Regions from separate parts of the Homo sapiens genome. Here region 1 is linked to region 2. Evidence: promoter capture Hi-C in human tissues and cell types (Jung and others, 2019). All regions are on one chromosome and are shown on one strand. The core of a region is centred on a gene start or on the middle of the fragment in contact, and the rest is flanking DNA. Distances in the headings are between cores, read along the strand shown.

Region 1 (4,540 bases), core at 1,755-4,254, 630 kb before region 2:
CCTTATTTTAACATCTGATCTTCCTAATAAAGTGTAAGCCTGACCAAACAAATCCAATGAAGGATGTTCATGTTCTATAGGCACAGGTCTGGGATTTGACATTACAGTTAGCACAATGAGTGCAGTGTAGCCTGAAGAAACATCTGTTAGGCGGAAAAGTTTTAAATGCTCCTTTTCTCTATGCCCAGTGATACATCTACCATAATGTGGCTCACTCAATAACCATTCCAACCCCATTCTCCCTTTCCTCCCTCTACGATAAAGACAGGAAAACAAATTCCTTTTTCTTTGAGACAGAATCTCGCTGTATCGCCCAGGCTGGAGTGCAGTGGCGCAGTCTCCACTCACTGCAACCTCTGCCTCCCGGGTTCAAGCGATTCGCTTGCCTCAGGCTCCCAAGTAGCTGGGATTATAGACATTGCAGCTAATTTTTGTATTTTTGGTAGACATGGGGTTTCACCATGTTGGCCAGGCTGGTCTCAAACTCCTGGCCTCAGGTGATCCGCCTGCCTTGGCCTTCCAAAGTGCTGGGATTACTGGCATGAGCCACCACGTCTGGCCTAATAATCTATTTAAAAAAATTTTTTTTGAGATATTGCCTAGGCTGGAGTGCAGTGGCACAATCATAGCTCACTGCAGTGTGGAACTCCTGGGCTCAAGAGATCCTCCCACTTCAGTCAGCCTCCTGAGTAGCTAGGACTACAGGCATGTGCCACCACATGTGTCTAATTTTTATTTTTACTTTTTTTGAAATAGAGTCTCGCTCTGTTACCCAGGCTGGAGTGCAGTGGTGAGATCTAGGCTCACTGCAACTTCCACCTCCTCAGTTCAAGTGGTTCTCCTGCCTCAGCCTCCTGAGTAGCTGAGATTACAGGATTAGCACCACGCCCCGATAATTTTGGTATTTTTAGTAGAGATGGGGTTTCACCATGTTGGCCAGGCTGGTCTCCAACTCCTGACCTCAAGTGATCCACCCATCTCAGCCTCCCGAAGTGTTGGGATAACAGGCGTGAGCTACCACGCCTGGCTTAATTTTTTTTTTAATTTTTTTGTAGAGATGGGGTCTTGCTATGTTGCCCAGGCTATTCTCAAACTCTTGGCCTCAAGCAATCCTCCCACCTCAGCTTCCCAAAGTGCTAGGATTACAGGTGTGAGCCACTGGACCCCACCTGCAAAGATCTTTAAGTTCAATATCTCATTTCCTGACTCTACCAGTATCCAAAGAATTAACTGAGTAAAAAGTAAAACAGTCTAGCACTCTTTTAGGCTACAATATTAATACTGAAACAACATGGGACAATTTTTTTTAATTACAACCACGTGGCAAAATGATCAATCTCTTAAAAGCCAAAAATATTCATATTTGCATTGGCAAATATAAGTATTTGTGTTATCATTTATTAAAGATTTCTCAGCTTCTCAAAAAGTTAAACATAATTCCTAGGTATATCCCAAAGGAGCTGAAAAGAGGAACTCAAACAGATACTTGTACACCAATGTTCACTGTAGCATTATTCACAGCAGCCAAAAATGTGGAAACAACCCAAGTGTCCATCAACAGATGAATGGATAAACAAATGTGGTATATGCAGTCAATGGAATAGTATTCAGCCATGAAAAGGAATAACATTCTGATACATACAACACAGATGAGCCTTGAAAACATTATGTTAAATGAAATAAGTCAGATACATAAGACAAATGCATACTTCTACTTATATATGAAATATCTAGAATAAGTAAATTCATAGAGACACAATATACATTAGAGATTACCAGGGACTGGGGAAAGGAGTGGACGGGGAATTATTGTTTAATGGGTACCAAGTTTCTCTTTGGGGTGATGGAAAAGTTCTGGATATAGATAGTGGTGATGGTTGTACAATATTATGAATGTAATTAATGCCTTTGAATTATACACTTAAAAATGGCGAACATGGCATATTTTATGTTATATATAGTTTAACACAATAAAAAAAGATTTGTATCAAAAAGGAATACAACATTCTTATTACTTAGCTAAAGCAACTAGAAATCTTACAAAACGTGTAAAAGAATTTTGATGTAACATATATATTTGAACTCACTAAATTCTCTCTAGGTTGTAACTTTAGAGATCTTGGAATTTTAGGGGTAACTTCCACTGGAGTTATCCTGACTACGGCATGCATTTCTATATTTAGTCTCTTCCTCAGGTCATCTGGAATCTGAAATTTAAAAATAAACAAAAATATAAATATATTCAAAGCTTGGTTAAGAAATATTTCATAGCATAAATATTGATATATTAGCTTCTATGAATTTAGGTGAAATAACAGAAGCTATCATAATAACTCATAGTTGTCTCAGTCCATGCAGGCTGCTATATCAAAATATCCTAAACTGGGTGGCTAACAAACGACAGAAACTTATTTCTCACAGTTCTCTTTTATAAGAGCACGAATCCCATTCATGAAGGCTTCACCTTCATGACCTAATCACTTCCCAAAGACCACACCTCCTAATACGATCACCTTGGGAGTTGGGATTTCGACATATGAATTTGAGGAGGACAAAACATTCAAATACCAACGGTGTGACCAGATGGATGTTCAGATATTGTTATACCATGAACATTTCAATCCTCTCCCTACATTTCTTTCCTTTTCTTTACATAATCTTCAGAATTAGAGCTTTAAATGTATGTATTTGACTGTATTCACCAAACCCATCTTTTAAACTATGGCACATTTACATTCAAATTAAATGTTATTTCTAATCTTTGAGCAGCCTTTATTTGTGAAAGTTAACAACCAATGAAGAAGCTGGAATGGCCAAAACTAATCACAGACAATCTGCCTGATTGTCTGATTAAATGATTAGATCCAGACAGAAACTTAATCTAAAAAGCAGAGTAAAATTTCTCCCACCCCCTAATGAAAATGTTCTAAACTTAGATTGTGGTGATGGCTGTACAACTAGTATAAATATACTAAAAATGACTGAATTGTACACTTTAAATTTTACCTCAGCCGGGCGCAGTGGCTCACGCCTGTAATCCCAGCACTTTGGGAGGCCGAGGTGGGCGGATCACAAGGTCAGGAGTTTGAGACCAGCGTGGCCAATATGGTGAAACCTCGTCTCTACTAAAACTACAAAAATTAGCCAGGCGTGGTGGTGGGAGCCTGTATCCTAGCTACTCGGGAGGCTGAGGCAAGAGAATCGCTTGAACCTGGGAGGCAGAGCTTGCATTGAGTGGAGATCGCCACCACACTCCGGCCTGGGCGACAGAGTGAGACTCCGTCTCAAGAAAAAAAAAAAAATTATCTATATATATATATATATATATATATATATATATATATATATATATATATATATATCAATAATGATGTTAAAAATTTTTCTCAACTTCCCAAATATAAGTAAGCACTGAAAGACATAAAGACGACTTTACTCTCTATTAACTTCTAAAGAGCAGGTGCAGACATATTAATGGTAGACAAAAGCATAAATAAAAACTCTAAGGTACATATTCTGACTTAAAGAGAATTTAACAATCAAGTTTCCTGTTTGTTTGTTGTTTTTTTTTAATCACCATGCTTCACAGGGTAATAAAGGTTCAAGTTAACATGAATTTGTTAGTTGTATCACCAAGTGATCAATTTTGATCTCTCAAGCCAAGTCCATTTTAGTACCTGATTTCACCTACTGTGACTTCTCATTGTCCATGGCTCTTCAACCTTCAGTGGAGTGGGAAGGGCGGAGTCCTTATTGCTATCTTAATCACAGGACTTTACCATCAGCACTTCTCCCTGTTCTCACCATATAATTTCAAGGAAATAAAAGGATATTCCCATCTAATGACAGAACCAGCTAAATCATAAGCTCAGTGTTAGATATTTTGAATTTGAGGATGCAGTGGGATCTCCTGAACGGACAGTTTAAAGCTAACAGAAAATAATGATCTGAGGCCAGGCACAGTGGCTCACGCCTGTAATCCCAGCACCTTGGGAGACTGAGGCAGGCGGATCACTTGAGACCAGGAGTTCAAGACTAGCCTGGCCAACATGGTGAAACCTCGTCCCTACTAAAAATACAAAAATTAGCCAGGAGTGGTGGCGCACACTTGTAGTCCCAGCTACTCTGAAGGCTGAGGCAGGAGAATCATTTGAACCTGGGAGGTGGAGGTTGTAGTGAGTGGAGGTGGTGCCACTGCACTCCAGCCTGGGCAACAAAGCAAGCTTCTAACTCAAAAAAAGAAAAGAAAAGAGAAGAGAAGAGAAGAGAAGAGAAGAGAAGAGAAGAGAAGAGAAAAAAGAAAAGAAAAGAAAAGAAAAGAAAAGAAAAGAAAAGAAAAGAAAAGAAAAGAATGGTCTGGAGCTTTAGAAAATGATGTAGGCCGGCCAGGAGCAGTGGCTCATGCCTGTAATCCCAGCACTTTGGGAGGCCGAGGCAGGCAGATCACCTGAGGTCAGGAGTTCCAGACCAGGCTGGCTAACATGGTGAAACCCAGTTTCTACTAAAAATACAAAAAATTAGCCAGGCGTGGTGGTGCATG
Region 2 (4,471 bases), core at 1,900-4,399:
TCCTTTTAAAATGGTTTCATAAGAAATAGCTTATGCACACTTGCAAGTATGTTCATTTTCAAAGTTCTGTTTTACTTTTTATAATTAGTTTTTAAAGATAGCTTTTAAAGAGAGTTGATTAAACAAGACTTTAATGATTAGAAACTTACCAGGGCTTTTCTGAAAACTTCTATCTTTATATTAGAAACATAAAATAAGTCTTCATGAGGCTGTTTGATCTGGATCCCTTAGATTAGTTCCCCTTTCTTGATAATTTGCAAGAGTCACGTTCTGGAAAGCAGCTATGAGGAAGCAGAGCTGTAGGCAGAACAGACTTGGTCCTTGTTCAGTTTGCCGGAGGATATACTTGTTGAGAACGTATTGCATAAAACAATGATATCACAACCAATTAAAATGCAATAGACTGGACTGCTGCTGAGGAAATGTTTATGAAACAGATTTTCCCCCCAACTTTCTACTATGAAAATGTTTGAACATACAGAAAATTTGAAAGAATAGTGAAAAGAATACCCTTCTCCTAGGTAGCATCTCTTTGTGTACTTACTTCTAAGAAAATAAATAAAACTCAAAAAGTATGTGACAGGTACACTTTATCTCTCTTCCAGCATTCCACATTCAATGTGGAGCAAATCCTATGGGGTGTATCTTCAAAATATACCCAGCATTTGACTACCTGACACCACTACCACCTGGTCCAAGCCTTCCTCATCTCTTTCCTGGATTATAGGAATAGCTTCCTTGCCAGGTTCCCTCTTGCTGTTATTGATCTCTTCAGGGACTTCTCAAAAAAGCAGCCGGAATGACCCTGTTAAAATGTAAACATCATATCAATGTTGTGTCCAACCCTGTCTGTGGCTTTCCATCTGACAAGGCCTCACACAATCTGGTACCCTGCTAATCCTCTGATATTAGGTCTTTTATTTTTCCCTCTAAATCTGGCCCAGTCCCCTGACCTCCTCGTTGCTTCCTGAAGGAAGCACCTGCCCCTGTTTCCAGCCACTACACTTGTTTTCCCTTCCTGGAATGTCCCTGGATACCAGCAGGGCTCACTCTTTCACTTTGTTGAGATCTTTTGTCAAATGTCACCTTCTCAGCAAGGCACTGTTTGGCCAGCCTACTGAAAACTTTATCCCACCTCCCAACATTTCCTATCCCTCTTCTGGCTTCATTTTTTATCTACTTAGGACTTACAAGCAGCAAATATTTTATATATTTTAACCTATTTATTTTCTGTCCAACCCATTATTCTATGCACTCCATAAGGACAAATTTCTTTACATTTTGTTCATTATCTGGCATTGCCTAGCACATAATAGCTTCTTAACAAAAATCTGTTAAATGAGTAACACATTTTCTTAGAGTAGTTAAAAGTAATGAATATTTGAAAGGCCTTGAGCTACCAGTGTCTGTGGGTCAAAGGACTTCCTCATTTTCCTAGGGAAATTATTTCGCTTGGCTGGAACTCCAGGTAGAAATCTGGGGAAATCTCTTTACTGTGCTACCCGTTAGGCCAGAATGAACTCCAGCTTCTATCATCTGGTCACAAATAATGAAAAGGAAGTTTTTTTTTCAAAAGGAAAGCAAAACAAATGAATATATTTTCTCCTGCAGTTTTTGTAGATACCCTAGTTACAGACTACACCTTACCAACTTTCTGCTGTGTCACTCACAGTCACCGAATGAGGCCATTTCTCACACAGCGTTTTCCCTGGAGGAGGTCCCTTTTGACTCTAGGTCCCCAGTGTCTTAAGACCTTTGCTGTTTTCACCCTCTGCCTTTGCTGGGAAGCTGCTCTTCTGGCAAGGGGCTTACACTTTCCACAGACACAGTCTGCTCGGGTGAGATGCAATACCTTCTTTTAGCTGGTGTCCTCTTTCAGAAATTTAACCAGCCAGTCTCTCTCTGGAAATGCTAAAGATGGAAAAAACAGACTCCAGATTTTTTCTTTCGTTTTAGCCAGTACAATTTTAAGAGCATCTGGATGTATGCTGTTGGAACTAAGTAACAATCAAAATGACCATGATTAGTGTGGACAAATTTTGTGATTGCCTTGACTTAAGTCTTGGCTTTCTAGGGGCCCTCAGTGTCCTGTTTTGAAACAATTGTGAAGACAAATATTATCTTTAGCAACGTTGGTTATTGACAAAGGAGTTGCAGGTTGGCATCCTCAACACTTCAGTTTTCTCTCTTTGATGCTCAGCAAGAATTTCCAAGTCAGCAAACTCTCAGGGACAAGCCCACCCCATCTTTGAGAGACCCTCAGCAACACCGCTGATATCCATGCCCTAGGGAGGTGTTCTGCTCTGCAGGATTCTTAGAACTGATGTAGGGGAAACACACTTCAGAATCTGGCTGTAGCCCAGGAGAGCTACCCACACCCTCCTTGCATAGTCTGGCAGACAGAAGCCACACAAGCAAGTTAGTTTCGTTTTCCTGAAGAACACTTTGCATTTTTTTTCTTAGTTTTCAACCAGATTGCTGGATAAGATGTATGTGAATGAAATACTTTAATAGAATAATATTTAGCCTCTGCAGAGTATTAACTTTGATAAAATGTAAAAGTTTTAATAACATCTTACGTTATGAAGACAGAATTTTGTGTAATTACACAAGATCACACGTTCCTTTAGAATCTTCAGTGCTTAAATTCCTGACCCTGTTTGCATCGTTTCTCTATCCTCTTTTCCAAAGCCTGCCTGCCACAATCAGAAACCCTCCCACTATCCTAATTACACTTAATGGTATGTTTCTTTTTAGAAGAGCACTTACAAAGTTATTATCAGTTAAATATACTGACATGTATTTAATCCATTGATTTTTCTAATTACTCTAGTATTTTTATAAGTAATCGTTTATGTACAAACATATATTTATATAAAAAGTACAGCTGAAGTTTTAAAAAATAGCTGTCGCCTCAAAAGCATAACAAATAAAGGTTTAATGATTCAGTTTACTTACCAGGATTTTCCTGAAAATGTCATCGTTTTATATCAGAAACTTGAAACAGGCCATTTGAACTTTTGCTGTCTCATTCCTCTTCTGATGGCTAGGAGACATGAAGTGTAAGGATCCTTTTTTAAAAACTGAGGCATTAAATTGTGAAGTCTTCTGTTCTCCCAGTACTCTGACTTTCTGAGGGTGTGTCAGAGTGCCAGTTGAGAAGCAGGAGGAAGTTGAAGTATAGACAGTTTCAGTTTTGCTTTAGAACATTCTTTTTTCTTGAGTTTAGAAGGATCTGAAATGTTTTTTAATCAATAACATTACCAAAAATATCAATAAATTTGAATCACTGCTTAGAAACTGTTTACCAGGCAGATTTTTAAGTTATAAGAGTTAAGGAATAAGGAAACAACAAACAAACAAACAAAAAAACCCAGTGACCCAAAAAACTACCTACAGGACAAAGAGAATGGAAATACCAGGGAGAAAATTAATATGTCAGTGCAATCTAAGTTCCTGTTACTGGTTGAATTGTGTCCCCCAAACATTCATATGTTAAAGTCCTAATCCTCACTCCCTCCAAATGTAACTGTATTTGGAGATAAGGTCTTTCAGGAGATAATTAAGTTAAAATGAGGTCATTAGAGTGTCTGTAATTGAATCTGACTGTGTCCTTGTAAGAAGACGAGATTGGGACACAGACACATACAGAGGGAAGACCATGTGAAGACACAAAGAAAAGATGGCCATCTACAAGCCAAGGAGAGAGACATCAGAAGAAACCAACCCTGATAATGTCAGAGACATTCGAACCAGAGTGACTCCATTTTGAATGAGGGCTACGAAAATGAGGCTGAGACTTGCTGGGCTGCCTTCTCAGAAAGGTAGGCATTCCTAGCCTCTAGATGTTTATGATTAAGGGAGCAAATTAATAATATTTACTAAGCAGACCGTGACTTGGGAGTGTCCAGATATCCCAATATCTGGAGAACAGAGGCATTCTTAATTTTGCTTTAAAGAAAATAATATTGATTCTTGCAAAATACACTAATTAAGAAAATTAATTCTTTATCAGAAACCCTTGTAGCAAAACACATCTCTCCATATATACAAGCATTGTACCTAGGGTGGATGTGTTCCTCCTCTTACTTTCGGGAACGTCCTACTCTGTCTGTGGAGTAGCTGTCCTTTTACCACTGTACTTTCTTAATAAACTTGCTTTTACTTTGCACTGTGGACTCGCCCTGAATTCTTTCTTGCATGAGCTCCAAGAACCCTCTCTAGGGGTCTGGATTGGAACCCTGGTCCTGTAACATTTCTGGCAACCATGAGGGACCGATACTGAAGAACCTCCCCACCAACCCAAAGGAAATGGACTATAGCACTGATTGGATGACTTTGGGTAAGTGGTGGGGTACCCGGGTAAAGAATGGGATTGGGTTAGAGGCCCAACTTAGGGGAATTAGAGTCTCTCCGAAGACAGGGTGAATTAGAGACCCCTGTTAATAAAAGGCAAAGATGCTTGACTGAC

The links. Contacts are between HindIII fragments. The study calls those that stand out against the background at their distance.
Region 1: a contact is called between a fragment that was not itself captured here and the fragment with the promoter of SAMD9L in region 2, in 1 of the 25 tissues and cell types used here (lymphoblastoid cells).

The regions. Positions count from the first base shown.
Region 1 is chr7:92,511,761-92,516,300 of GRCh38, forward strand. It overlaps PEX1 (peroxisomal biogenesis factor 1), which reads right to left. Exons shown (of 24, transcript NM_000466.3): 6 at 2,088-2,207. Among named protein-coding and RNA genes, the nearest start is that of PEX1, 14 kb to the right of the region's middle. The HindIII fragment of the contact is 6,462 bases long and covers 1-4,540 here.
Region 2 is chr7:93,145,236-93,149,706 of GRCh38, forward strand. It overlaps SAMD9L (sterile alpha motif domain containing 9 like), which reads right to left and starts at 3,150. Exons shown (of 5, transcript NM_152703.5): 1 at 2,959-3,150; 2 at 1,648-1,911; 3 at 150-805. RefSeq lists an enhancer at 2,350-2,449. The HindIII fragment of the contact is 15,444 bases long and covers 1-4,471 here.